Regions from separate parts of the Homo sapiens genome. Here regions 1 and 3 are each linked to region 2. The links are contacts of gene promoters, found by promoter capture Hi-C in blood cells and fetal thymus (Javierre and others, 2016). All regions are on one chromosome and are shown on one strand. The core of a region is centred on a gene start or on the middle of the fragment in contact, and the rest is flanking DNA. Distances in the headings are between cores, read along the strand shown.

The links. Contacts are between HindIII fragments. The CHiCAGO score rates a contact against its expected background, and 5 or more counts as called.
Region 1: a fragment that was not itself captured here is called in contact with the fragment with the promoter of ATP2B1 in region 2 in 1 of 17 cell types (endothelial precursors); the score reaches 5.2 in endothelial precursors.
Region 3: a fragment that was not itself captured here is called in contact with the fragment with the promoter of ATP2B1 in region 2 in 1 of 17 cell types (endothelial precursors); the score reaches 5.1 in endothelial precursors.

What each region holds. Positions count from the first base shown.
Region 1 is chr12:90,942,910-90,946,959 of GRCh38, forward strand. It overlaps LINC00615 (long intergenic non-protein coding RNA 615), which reads left to right. Exons shown (of 5, transcript NR_038868.1): 4 at 3,515-3,582. Among named protein-coding and RNA genes, the nearest start is that of CCER1, 10 kb to the right of the region's middle. The HindIII fragment of the contact is 3,186 bases long and covers 855-4,040 here.
Region 2 is chr12:89,707,277-89,711,317 of GRCh38, forward strand. It overlaps ATP2B1 (ATPase plasma membrane Ca2+ transporting 1), which reads right to left and starts at 1,562. Exons shown (of 21, transcript NM_001366521.1): 1 at 1,320-1,562. ATP2B1-AS1 (ATP2B1 antisense RNA 1) reads left to right here and starts at 1,679. Exons shown (of 1, transcript NR_028138.1): 1 at 1,679-4,041. RefSeq lists enhancers at 441-530, 541-640 and silencers at 831-1,060, 1,211-2,230, 2,251-2,800. The HindIII fragment of the contact is 7,681 bases long and covers 1-4,041 here.
Region 3 is chr12:90,909,663-90,913,674 of GRCh38, forward strand. No RefSeq gene overlaps it. Among named protein-coding and RNA genes, the nearest start is that of LINC00615, 6.4 kb to the right of the region's middle. The HindIII fragment of the contact is 3,035 bases long and covers 805-3,839 here.

The DNA of each region.
Region 1 (4,050 bases), core at 1,198-3,697, 1.2 Mb after region 2:
ATAATATCTTACCTATAATAGTGTTCTTAGACGAGTTCTTATTTCTCACTAAATCTAATCCATATTGTTTATTTAGATTTTTGCCTGCCCTGAAATGTGATACTTTCATGGCAAATCTTTTCAACCTTTAACTTTCATTCTTCATTATATCCATTTTCTTTCAACAGACCTCCAGATAGTGCTATTACTTTGCTTTTATACTGTATTTTATTTTTTTCCTAATTGTGACTGCCACATAGCAGCTCTTGGGCTCTTCTCCTGCCAGTAGCTAGCAGTTTTCCATTTCTACCTACTTCCATTAGTAAAGGCTGATTCCTAATTTAGAGAATTAAGAATTCTGCAATCAGAGTGAACTTTATACTTTCACCTTAGAAGAAAGGGAAAAGGGGCCAGGGAACAGTTTTAATGATGTGAATATTCTAGCACAGTTTTGCACTCTGCTTCTTTACTCTCTTTAAAATGTCTCATCACATAAATAATTTATCACAGAACTTTTGGACATCAATTACTGAGACTCAGCACTTTTTCCAGGACAGCATTACAATATGCGGTATGACTGCAAAAGTTTGGCTTTGGCTATTGACTCAAAGTTATGTCCTTGAATAATCTGAACTGAATCTAAGATTTCATCACACTCCCATCCATTTCAGAGTGGACTTAATGATATAAGGAAACAGACTATGTGGTTTCCAACCTCTGTCACCTATTAGCTGTGGGATCCTGGGTAACTTGGTCAAGAGCTCTTAGCATTGGCTTTCTCACTGCTAAACTAAGCATATGTTCTTAGCACAGGTCCTACACAAGGTAAACACTCAGCAAAGTGAAACAGAATAAAATAAGTGTTGGCTACGTTAAGCTTCACCAGGTACTCCAAATTGTAAAATTATAATAATCTAAAAATGTATTTTCATGTGCCTTTTAGAAACAGGAACATTGCCATGAGCATTTTTAAGATGGTTTATACTCATGGTGATTCTGTGGCCCAGCAAGTTGGAACCAAGAGCTTCTTGTTACATTAAAAAATTTTGTGTTCAGTTCCTGTGCAAATCTATGCATGAGGACAGGGCTATTATACCACACAGTTTAGAGCACAAGAGATGTGGCTGAGTCTCTACTTACTCTTTCTTCTGCTTTCCTAATGAAGTAGGTTTTAGTACACACATGGATAAGTAATTATGCTTCTCTGTTGGAACTACCTAAGAATCATAGATCATTTCATAGATTTATTTTTATTTTATTCTTTTTTTAAATATTGAAATTATGTATTAAGGGCTTCTTATGTGCAAGATTGTGCACTGGAAGTAGAAAGATGATCAATTCCTTGACCTATAACCTTTTTTAGACAGAAGAGAACCACAGGTAATTAACGATAATTTAGAAAGGATAATGGAAGTATCAATAAAGTGAAGTGTTAAGGAAGTACAAAGCAAGAAGTACAGAGCACCTCTTTCTAGAAGCGCTGTGGAAGAACTGATGAATGCATCACTAAGGCAGTTGTAAAGGCAGAAACTATCTCTCAGGCTAAGGCAGAGCCTGCTCGTAGCATTGATTTGTGCTCCCACTAGACCTAGATAGCAGCTGGAAAGAGCTGGGAATCAGGCAGCAATAAAAATATTAATTATCTTCTGGGTGCCAGACCAACAAACAAGCAAGTTTGTTTCTTTCCCTAACAAGATGTACTCTAATTAGTGGCCATGATCATTACACCATGTTTGAGTCCCAGGAGGTGATTGACTATCACAAGTCCTGCTTTCACTACCAGGCCAATGGATACATACTCTCATTTTTATTGCTTGAGATTAAAGTGTTAAGCATTATTTAGTTTAGCAATTTCAAATTTGATAATTGTCTTGTTTATTGTCACTATTTAAAGGAAAACAAATACACTGTCAGTGCAGATTGTGAATGTTAATTAGTGGTGTTACTGTCAAAAGGAATTTGAATAGACAGAAGTATTGTAGAAACACCTTCAGATAAAATATGATTCATGGAATAAAATTATTATAACTTTATCAAAATAATAATCCACAGACATACAAGGATTCTTCTGGGCCAATGTTTTCCCCCTTTCCTTCACACACTTTGGTAATTTATGTTTATGGCTTAGTCTTATAGTTCAAAAAGATACTAACTTTTAAACACCAAGCCGTATAGCAGCATATTCAAATAAATAATTTAAATATCTATCTTAATACGGTGCTTTGTCACAATACCATTACAGTACTCTTTTTGCATTTGTATTAATGTATTATGTGTTCTAAAAAATGCATCTGTGAATATAGTACAACAGCTCATCTATCATTAGCTTACATTTAAATGTTTTGCCTTTGCCACTAGGTGGCACCTATATATTAATAGTTGTGGAGCATAAGTTCTACATAAGAAGGCAATATAGACAGTGAAGGAGAGAAAAGTAAGCCATTTTATTAAATTTGTTTTGTATTTAAATATTTGTTCAGGAAATAATGTAGAATTCACAAAATTTTTTTAAGACTAGGGGAAAACATTAAATACTCATTATTCTTTTTAAAAAAATGATGAACATTGATTTTGGAAAAATCCACTGGGGGTTGCCAGGGGAACATATACAGCCACTTAGTCTTGACCTCAGCTTGCCATCCTATATTATAATCTCCCAGTTCAAGGAAATTCTGCAATCAATAAAAATTAATAAAAAATAAGAACTGTAATTATATATGGCAGCATTAAAATTCTGCTTTTGGTGGTACTATTTAATGATAAATGTCATATGAAATGTGTAGTCTAATAGAAATTTTTGTGATAAATGGTAAATTAACACCAGTTAAGAGTCTTAAATTACTAGGCCTAAAACTGACATGCTAAAAATCTAAATATATTTAGGAGAGGATACACAAATAATGCATGATAACAGAACTATCAATCATTATAAAAATTTCAAATGCCCTCTGAAACCATCAGGAGATGCCAATATTAATAGCTTAAATAACAGCTAAAAATGCCAGTTAATGTCAAATCTAAATTTTTAAAGAGAAATGTGGATTTCTAGTCTTAGGTGTTAAAAGTTTACACAAAATAACCTTCCTGGGATAATAAAATATCACCAATAGAATTTGAAAGAAATCAAAAAGTAAGAGAACATGCAGTAATCATTAAAATTTTATTACAACTCTTGGTACTGTCTATGCTTCACTAAATATTGCATTGTATTTATTTATTGAAATCACAGTATTGAATTTAGGCAGCACAAGGTTAATAGCTAGATAGAAACACAGTGTCCAGCTCATGAGAAGAGTGCATGGATAGTATGTGATTAGTGTCTTAAGTTGAGAATAACCATTCTAAAAGCAACATCCAAAAAAGAAAAAGAAATAGATTTAGAATGAAACAAGCAGCCTAGAAAGAAGGTAAGTCAAAACCTATGTAACATGAACAATGGTGTAAATAAGTAGGGGAGCTTCTCCAAAAGATAGTCCAAATACAGCCAAGTCCTTTTTGTGTTTGAAATATAATACCTTTGTTTATTTTCCTATAGTGCAAAACTAGGACCAGTTGGTGGAATCTGTGGTCAAAAACAAAAGCCTTCCTTTTTTTTTTTTCAAGGTAAGCATCTTGCTCTGTCACCCAGGCTGGAGTGCAGTGGCTTCATCTCTGCTCACTGCAACCTCCACCATCTCCTGGGCTCAAGCCATCCTTCCACCTCAGCCTTCCGAGTAGCTGAGACCACAGCCATGGGTTACAATGCCTCAGATAACAAACATTACTTTTTTTGATAGGATGGGGTTTCTCCATGTTGCCCCTGCTGGTCTCAAACTCCTGGGCTCATACAATCCCAAAGTGCTGAGATTATAGGCATAAGCCATTGCACTGGGCAGGACAATTTTTTTTTTTAAATTAAAACTAGAACTTCTTATTGAGGGAAATACGACCATGTATTTTAAATTGTAAAAAACAGTTCTGCATGTGATCTTCATATAGAAAACATTAATATATTTTCTGTATAAAAAGAAGGGAGGAATAAAAGATTTGAGCTGATGACCTTTCAACATACAAAGTCTACAAGCTTTTTAT
Region 2 (4,041 bases), core at 312-2,811:
GATGAGAGCCTCATACAAACCAGGCCCTTACAAGTACTTCTTATTATAAAATACACCCACGCTGAACAAAAGCCTTATTTTAAAATAAGACTGTCCTCAGGTGGGGGAGGTTAAACACAACAAAGGCTTCCATGTTGACAGGCAGACAAGTTCAGATATATGCATATACCTACACACGTATGAAAAAAATCTATGTAGCTAATTTATCACGAACAGCAATCGATACCAACAGAAGCCATTAGATTATTAATAAACCAAGAAAAGTAGCGGGCACAGAAGCGAAAGGTGGCTGTCTGCAGCGCTCTAACCCAAAGAAAAGGTAAATATCAGCCTGTCGAGGAGGGTCGAGCCCTCCAAGTACCTGCAGACCCCTTTAACCCACCCGGACGCCCTGCCCTCCCCTCCGAGCCAAGCAGCGCACAGGGTGCGAGCACTCCCAGCGCTGCGAGTCCCGCAGAAAACTGGTGAATGAAATGCGCACAGAGACCAACCTGGCTGGTGACCGCGGCGCAGAACCAGGGGTCGCTAACCAGCTTAGCCACAGGATTCTCCCGCAGGATGGGATAAAGAGAGCACAGCCCCCACCCCACACCCCTGCCACTGGAACGCGGTCCTCCTACAGACTCCTTCCTCAAAAAGGGAGGTGGGGGCGCAGGCTTTTTTCTCTTAAACTAAGTGAATAAACACGAATCGGAAACAACTGTGAACATCCTGGGGGGCCAGACGGAAGGCGTGAGGAGAAAGACCAGGCGGCTCTCCAACTCCCGAGGAATCACCGTCCTGACACGCCAACAATCAACCACCAGGGCCAGGGGCCGACCAGGGGCCCCCGCTCCCCTCCCGCAGTGCGTCTGGGGGGCCGAGGCCAAGGATTAGAGGGGTGACCCTCCCGGGGCGCGGGGAGAGGGAGTGCCGGGCACGGTGCCCTCAAGGTCACCACGCGCCGTGGCGGGGGCGACCGGTGGCGGGATGGGCTGTGGCGCGGCCGAGGCGGCTTCGTGAAGCCGAAGACCTGCGGGTGTAGACCAGAAGCCCCAACAAGCCCCATCCCTCGGGCCCGGAGCAGCGACTCCCAGACTGACCCGGCGCTGAGGTGCACGGCGAGAAGCCCGCTCACCTTCACAATCTCCCGGCAAGAGGCAACCTGCGAGGGGCCCCGACCGCCCCCGTCAGCTTCTCCCGAATCCGGCGCAACCCGCTGCGCACCCAGCTATCAGGATCCCCGCCGCGACGCCCGACCTCCGTGCTCCGCCTGGCCTCCCCCGCAGGTGACCTGCCCCGCCGCCCCCGGCCGCGGGCGGGCGGCGGCCGCCACTCACCTCGCCCGGCAGTGGGAACCATTTTCCGAGGGGGAAGGAAAGGCAGGCTGCGGGAGGGTCGCGGGGCGTTAAGGGGCAGCGGGAAACGCAGAGGATGGGGGCTCCGTCCTCAGCGCGTCCGCAGCCGGCTCGCAGGGCTCGGGGCGCCACGCGGAGGTGCAGCTGCACCTCGGGGATGGGGCGGCCAAGGAGCCGAGAGGCTCGGCGTCCACCAGCCGGGGCTCCCTACTCACGCTGCACTGCGAGGAGGCGGCGGCGGCAGCGAAGGAGGAGGAGGCGGCGCCCGGCCGTCCCCGCCCAGAGCCCGGCAGCCACCGAGTGGCCGCCCGCGTCCCCGCAGGACCCGCCTCCTCGGCTCCGCAGAGCGGCACACAGGGCGCGCCGCGCTCGCTCGGCACGGGCAGCTCAGCCGGCCTCACGCCGCCGTCCGCAACAGCAGCCGCGGGCGGGGTGCAGCCACCTCCGTGAGCGCCGCAGCCCGCCCCACTCGGGGCGGGGCCCGCGGGCACCGGAGAGCGGACGGCCGAGCACGAGGGGGCTGCGCGCAGCTCCGGGCAGGGACCCCGTCTGCACCGGGTGGCCTGCAAGATTGCCGGGGTAGGCAGGGGGAGGAGAACGCTCACCCGTTCCGGTCTGGCGCTCCCTTTTCTCCACACCCACACGCCTCCCGCTCCACGCTGGCGGCGCAGCTGCTCCCGCTGCCACAGCCGCCACCGCCGCCGAAGCTCGCGCCGCCGCCGCTGCCGCCTTGGCTGAGCGCGGTCACGTGACGCGATCCGCGGGGAGCCTGGGGGCGGGCGAGTGCGCGCGCGCGCGCGCGGAGGAACCGCGGCTCGGACCGGGACTGGGAGCTGAGCGGCACTGGGAGGGCGTTTAAGGGGAGGACCCGGCGAGCGCGCCCTCGGCTGGCGAGCGCGCGCCTGGCGATTAGAACTTGCCGCGCGGTCGGGAAAGGGTGGCCGGAGTGAGGGGCGGAGGTGGGGACTTGCGCCTCCGCACGCCCCTCCCTTTCTTCCTTCCCCTGAGCGCCTTGGCTTGCCGCTGCCCCCGCCCCCTCCAGCGCGCCCCTTCCCTCCTGCCGCAGCCTGCGATTGGCTGAGAGGCTCTGACGTCCGTGTTTCCATGACGTGTTGGTGCAGGAGGGAGCGGCGGGGGAGGAGGGGGTGGCCAGGCGCGCGGGGAGGTGACTCCGTCAGTCACAGCTGCTGTTTCGGCGCGGGGCCGGGCCGCTGCCGCGACGTGTGGAGGCAGGAGAGCGATGATTGCCGCAGGAGAAGTGCGGGCGCCCTTCACCTGGGGCCCCTCCCGAACCGCCCCCGGGCCCATGCCCCTCCAGGGCCCAGGAGCGAGCCAGCGGGAGGGCGAGGGCGAGCGCTCCTGGCGAGGACAGATTAAGGCGAACCCCCAGTCAGCGGACATTTGAGCGGCTCCTCGCCGCGTCTCTGCCCCCACTCCAAACCGGACTCGACGCCTGTCCCGGGCCGTGACGCACGCACCGGAGGAAAAAGTGCTTCTCGGCTCGCTCCCTCTTTGGGGAAGAGAGCTCACTCCCCATGCGGGCGCGGGACACTCCATCTCTGTTCCTGCCGGTCGGGTCCGCAAACACCGGGGATCCCAGCTGCGGCGCCCAAAGGGTTAACGCAGGCGTTCGGCCAGTGCAAACCGGCCTCGCAGGATCCGCGCTTAAAATCCGGGTGTTTTCATTTTGGGTTTGTTTCTTCTACTATGCCAAGCTGGTGGCTCTCTTTTAATTCTCTTGTAACATCTCAACCCTGCACCCATCTTTCCTGAGGGGAAAAGGAAACGGGATAACTTGCGGTATTTCGATGCTCAAAGGTAACCGGCGGCTCTGCTCCAACCTTCAAGAGATTTTGCAAGTTGAAAAAAAAAAAAAAACCATCCTTCGTAACATCTACTTAAAAAAAAAAAAGCAAGTTTTCCTTCTTGTACACGCATATACACAGTAAAGATGTGTATCTTACCTAAGATACCGCGCTTCATCTTCATCTAATCTTTATTTGAACTCACCGTCGCCACTGGCCCAGAGACCTTGTCAGTGTTATTTTCAGTATCAGTTAATCAGAACAAAAAGATAAGTTCTGCAATCTTCTTTCTCTTAATTCCAGAACTGGAAAATTAATATTTATATAGCCTCCTCAAAAGCATACAGGCAATAGGAAGTATGGTATTATGTTCACGATCTGATGATAGCATTTGTTTTAAAATATTTTAAAAGATTAGACACAAAATGTGTAAAAGACGTTTAAAAGTGAATAAATATAAATCAATGCTGTTGCAAATAATTTTTTTATCAGTTTATGTATCTCACTAGGCTTGACATTACCAGCCTTCTGAGCTGTGCCCTTGATGTGTAAGATAAACGAACATTGAACAGAATGATAGCATTTTTCCTCTCTTCAGTCACTGATGGAGAATTGGTTAATGTGGTACAATAAATAGCCCTTCCTGACACTATTTCAAATCTTTTTAACAGAAGAATAACCTAAATTTCACCTAATAAATTTCAATATTATTTCCCCCTAAAATATCTTTCAAAACGACTCAGAGACATTTAAGAATCACTGGCTTTTTTCCAACTTTTCCTCCAAGGAAGTTACAATACAATGTTGAATTATGTATTCTACTTTAATCAAGAATTTGACATTAAAGTAATATGTGAATCATTGCTATAGTACACTAGCAAAATGGGTAATAAACTAGA
Region 3 (4,012 bases), core at 1,072-3,571, 1.2 Mb after region 2:
ACCTGCATTCAGGTATGAGTCAGATATAATGTCAAATTCATGCCACCTTTGATTTTCCCTTGGGATACTTCCCTGCAGTATCACCTCAGGTCTACCAATACCTGGAACATAATTAAATGCTTCTCAAAAGCTGGCTTCATGAGCTGTAAGATCAACAGGGACCTCTAGACCATATATACATATATATTTAAGATGACCATACTGCCCAAAGCAATCTATAAATTCAATACAATTGTTATCAAAATACCAATTTTATTTATTACAGAACTAGAAAAAGCTATTTTTAAATTAACACGGAACCAAAAAAGAGCCCAAATAGCCAAAGCAATTCTTAGCAAAAAGAACAAAGCTGGAGACATCACATTATCTGAATTCAAATTATGCCACAAAGTTCTAGTAATCAAAACAACATAGTACTGATATAAAAATAGACACATAGATCAGTGGAACAGAATAGAGAACCCAGAAATAAAACCACGTATGTGTTACCCACTGATCTTTGACAGAGCTGACAAAAACATGCACTGAAGAATGGACACCCTATTCAATAAATGGTCCTGGGAAAATTGAATTGACATATGCAGAGGAATAAAACTGGGCCTTTCTCTCACACAACATATACAAAAATTAACCCAAGATGGATTAAAAAGTTAAATGTAAGACTAAAACCTGTCTAAGTACTAGAAGAAACTCTAGTTTCTATGAGAAACTCTTCTGCACATTGGTCTAGGTAAATAATTCACAACTAAGACCTCAAAAACACAAGCAACAAAAATAGACAAAAGTGACTTAATTAAACTAAAAAGCTTCTGCACAGCAAACAAAATAACAGAGGGAACAAACAACCTTCAGAAAGGGAGAAAATATTTGCAAACTATGCATTCAACAGAACACGAATATCCATAATTTATAAGGAAATCTACCCAATGACAACAAAAAACAACTCTGTTAAAAAGCAGGTAAAGAACATGAGCAGACATTCAAAAGAAAACATACAAAGATCCAACAAGCATATACAAAAAAATTCTCAACATTAGTAATCATCAGATAAATGCAAATTAAAACCATAAGGTGATATCACATTACAACAGCCAAAATGAAAAAAAAAAAAAAAAACATACACTGGCGAGGATGCAGAGAAGAAGAAAATTTACTTACTGTTGGTGAGAATGTAATTACTACAGCCTCCATGGAAAACAGTATGGAGATTTCACAAAGAACTAAAAATAGAACTATCATTGGATCCAGCAATCTTACTACTCAACATCTTCCAAAGGAAAAAAACAAGTCAGCATATGAAAAAGGTGTGTGTATGTTTATCATTTATTGTGGCACTATTCACAATAGCAAAGATATGTAATCAACAAATCTAAGTGTCCATCGACGGATTAGATAAAGAAAATGTGGCCTATGTACACAATAGAATACTACTCAGCCACAGGAAAGAATGAAATCATGTCTTTTGAGCAACATGGATGGAATCGGAGGCCATTATCTAAGTGAAACAACTCAGAAACAGATAAAGACTGCATGTTTCACCTATGACTGGGATCTAAATAATGTGTACACCAGAGTGTGGAATAATAGACATTGGAGACTTGGAAGATTGTGGGAGTGAGAGGGGAGTGGATGATGAGAAACTTCTTAATGGATACAATATACATTATCTGAGTGGCTGATACACTAAAAGCTCAGACTTCACCACTATTCAGTATATCCATGTAACAAAGCTGCATGTATACCCCTAAAATGTAGATAAATTTTTAAAAAAGTTTAAAGAGGTTTGTTTGGTTCACAGTCTGGGTGTAATGGCTATCTATATTTTTCTTAATAGAATATTGTGGGTTATACAAATGAAGGTTACTTATGTACTAGATGTTAAGCCTCAGTTGCTAGAGATGAAACATCACCCTACAATTTTGATCTTATTTTACTATTAATTATTTTCCAAAAAGCCTCTTAATTTCCTAAGTGGTTTTGAAACTCTAACCCAAGTGAATTGTGTGCAATATTGAAAATCAAACAAAACAGGAAAATTATATAAAATCGCAGCAGTTCTCAGGATAAAAGCTATTAATGAATCTAAATTGAGACCCTCCTCACTCATCCTAAGTCACTAACAACGACGATTTTATGATGGCATGTTCTGTAAAATTGTGGTGGTCTTCTTCTTTGGAATCTGACACTTAAAATATCATATGTGGATAACTGAGATCATAATGAATTTGTGCCAGTGTAAGACACAGCTCTTAAGCAGAGAAAATAAAAATATTTTTAAAAAACCTCCATGGACTCTTGAAGATCAAAGTTTGTGCTTGTATATAAAAGATAACATTAAACTGTTATCTCTAGAGAATATTTCTCTTGAGAATCTGAAGAAAATTTTGAAGAAGATACAAATATATGTTGGTGTGAAGACATGCGGAAAAGAGGATAAAAGAATCCATGCCCAGATGCCGTTTGGCTTCATGCTCTTTATTGCTCCACTCTTATCATCTCTCCTACTAGCTCCCATCACAGGATTATTTCTATTCTTATAGTGGATCTAATTCGCCCCCTACCTCCTGGACTGGTTTAGCTCCAAGATTGTGTTCCCAAAAAACTTTATTTGGCATCAAGACTATTCTTGCTTCTGAGCCTTATATTTTGTTCAGTCTGTGCTTAACAATGCAGTCACTTTCTCTGGATATCAGTAATGAAACTTCCTTTCCTTGGTCCCCATCCCATGTTGTCAAGTCCCCATGCTATGGCTTTTGAGATTCTCAAGTCCCTGAAGGTGGATCTATTTTACCCTCCAAACCCATTTCAATGAACTGATGGCCTAGAATACTTTTACTGTCTTGGAGCCTGAGCTGAAAGCTCTCAAGGCCTTTATGAACTGCACTGGAGTCATGATCCTTGTTTCCCACACTATGACCACCAGTTAGAATCTTGTAGTGAGACATGCATTCTAGTCCCACACTCCTTTATTTTATAAAGTACCATCAAAAGTCTCAGTGTTGACTGCATGTGCCAAATAATCCCATCTTTATAAAACAGATCTAAATATCAACTATAAAGATCCAAGGAGTCACGAAAATGAGAACTTCCGATGGTGCTTTCGAAGACATGGAATGGAATGTATGGAAAATTCACTGGGGAATGAAGAAGACATGAATAAAAGAGAACCAGGCAGTGGCAATGACCAGTTGAAAATAGAGGGCACAAATATCTCATTGTTTAGATCTTCATTATGTTTTATTTTCCCTAAGGATTAGTGTGTGGGCTTGTGTTGTGGACTGTATGTTTGTGTCTCTCCAAAATTCATATGTTGAAGCCGTGTATTAGTCTATTTTTATACTGCTATAAAGAACTGCCTGAGACTGGGTAATTTATGAAGGAAAGAGGTAATTAATTCACAGGTCAGCATGGCTTGAGAGGCCTCAGGAAACTTATGATCATGGTGGAAGGTGAAGGGGAAGCAAGGCAATTTCTTCACAAGGTGGCAGGAAGGAGAATTGCTGAGTGAAGGGGGAAGAGCCCATTATAAAACCATCAGATCTCATAATAACTCACTCACAATTATGAAAACATCATGGGGTAAACAGCCCCCATGATTCAATTACCTCCAACTGGTCTCTCGATTGACATGTGGAGATTATGGGGGTTACAATTCAAGATGAGATTTAGGTTGGGACACAAAACTTAACCATATCATTCTACCCCTGGCTCCTCCTAAATCTCATGTCCCTTTCATATTTCAAAACTAATCATACTTTGCCAGCAGTTCCTCAAAGTATTAATTCATTCCAGCATTAACCCAAAAGTCTAAATCCATAGTTTCATCTGAAAAACAGGCAAGCTTCTTCTGTCTATGAGCCCATAAAATCAAAAGCAAGTTAGTTACTTCCTAGATACAATGGGAGTTTAGGCAATGGGCAAATACACCTGTTCCAAATGGGATAAATTGGACAAAACAAAGGGATTACAGGCCCCATGCAAGTCCAAAATTTTAAAGTTCCAAAATGATCTC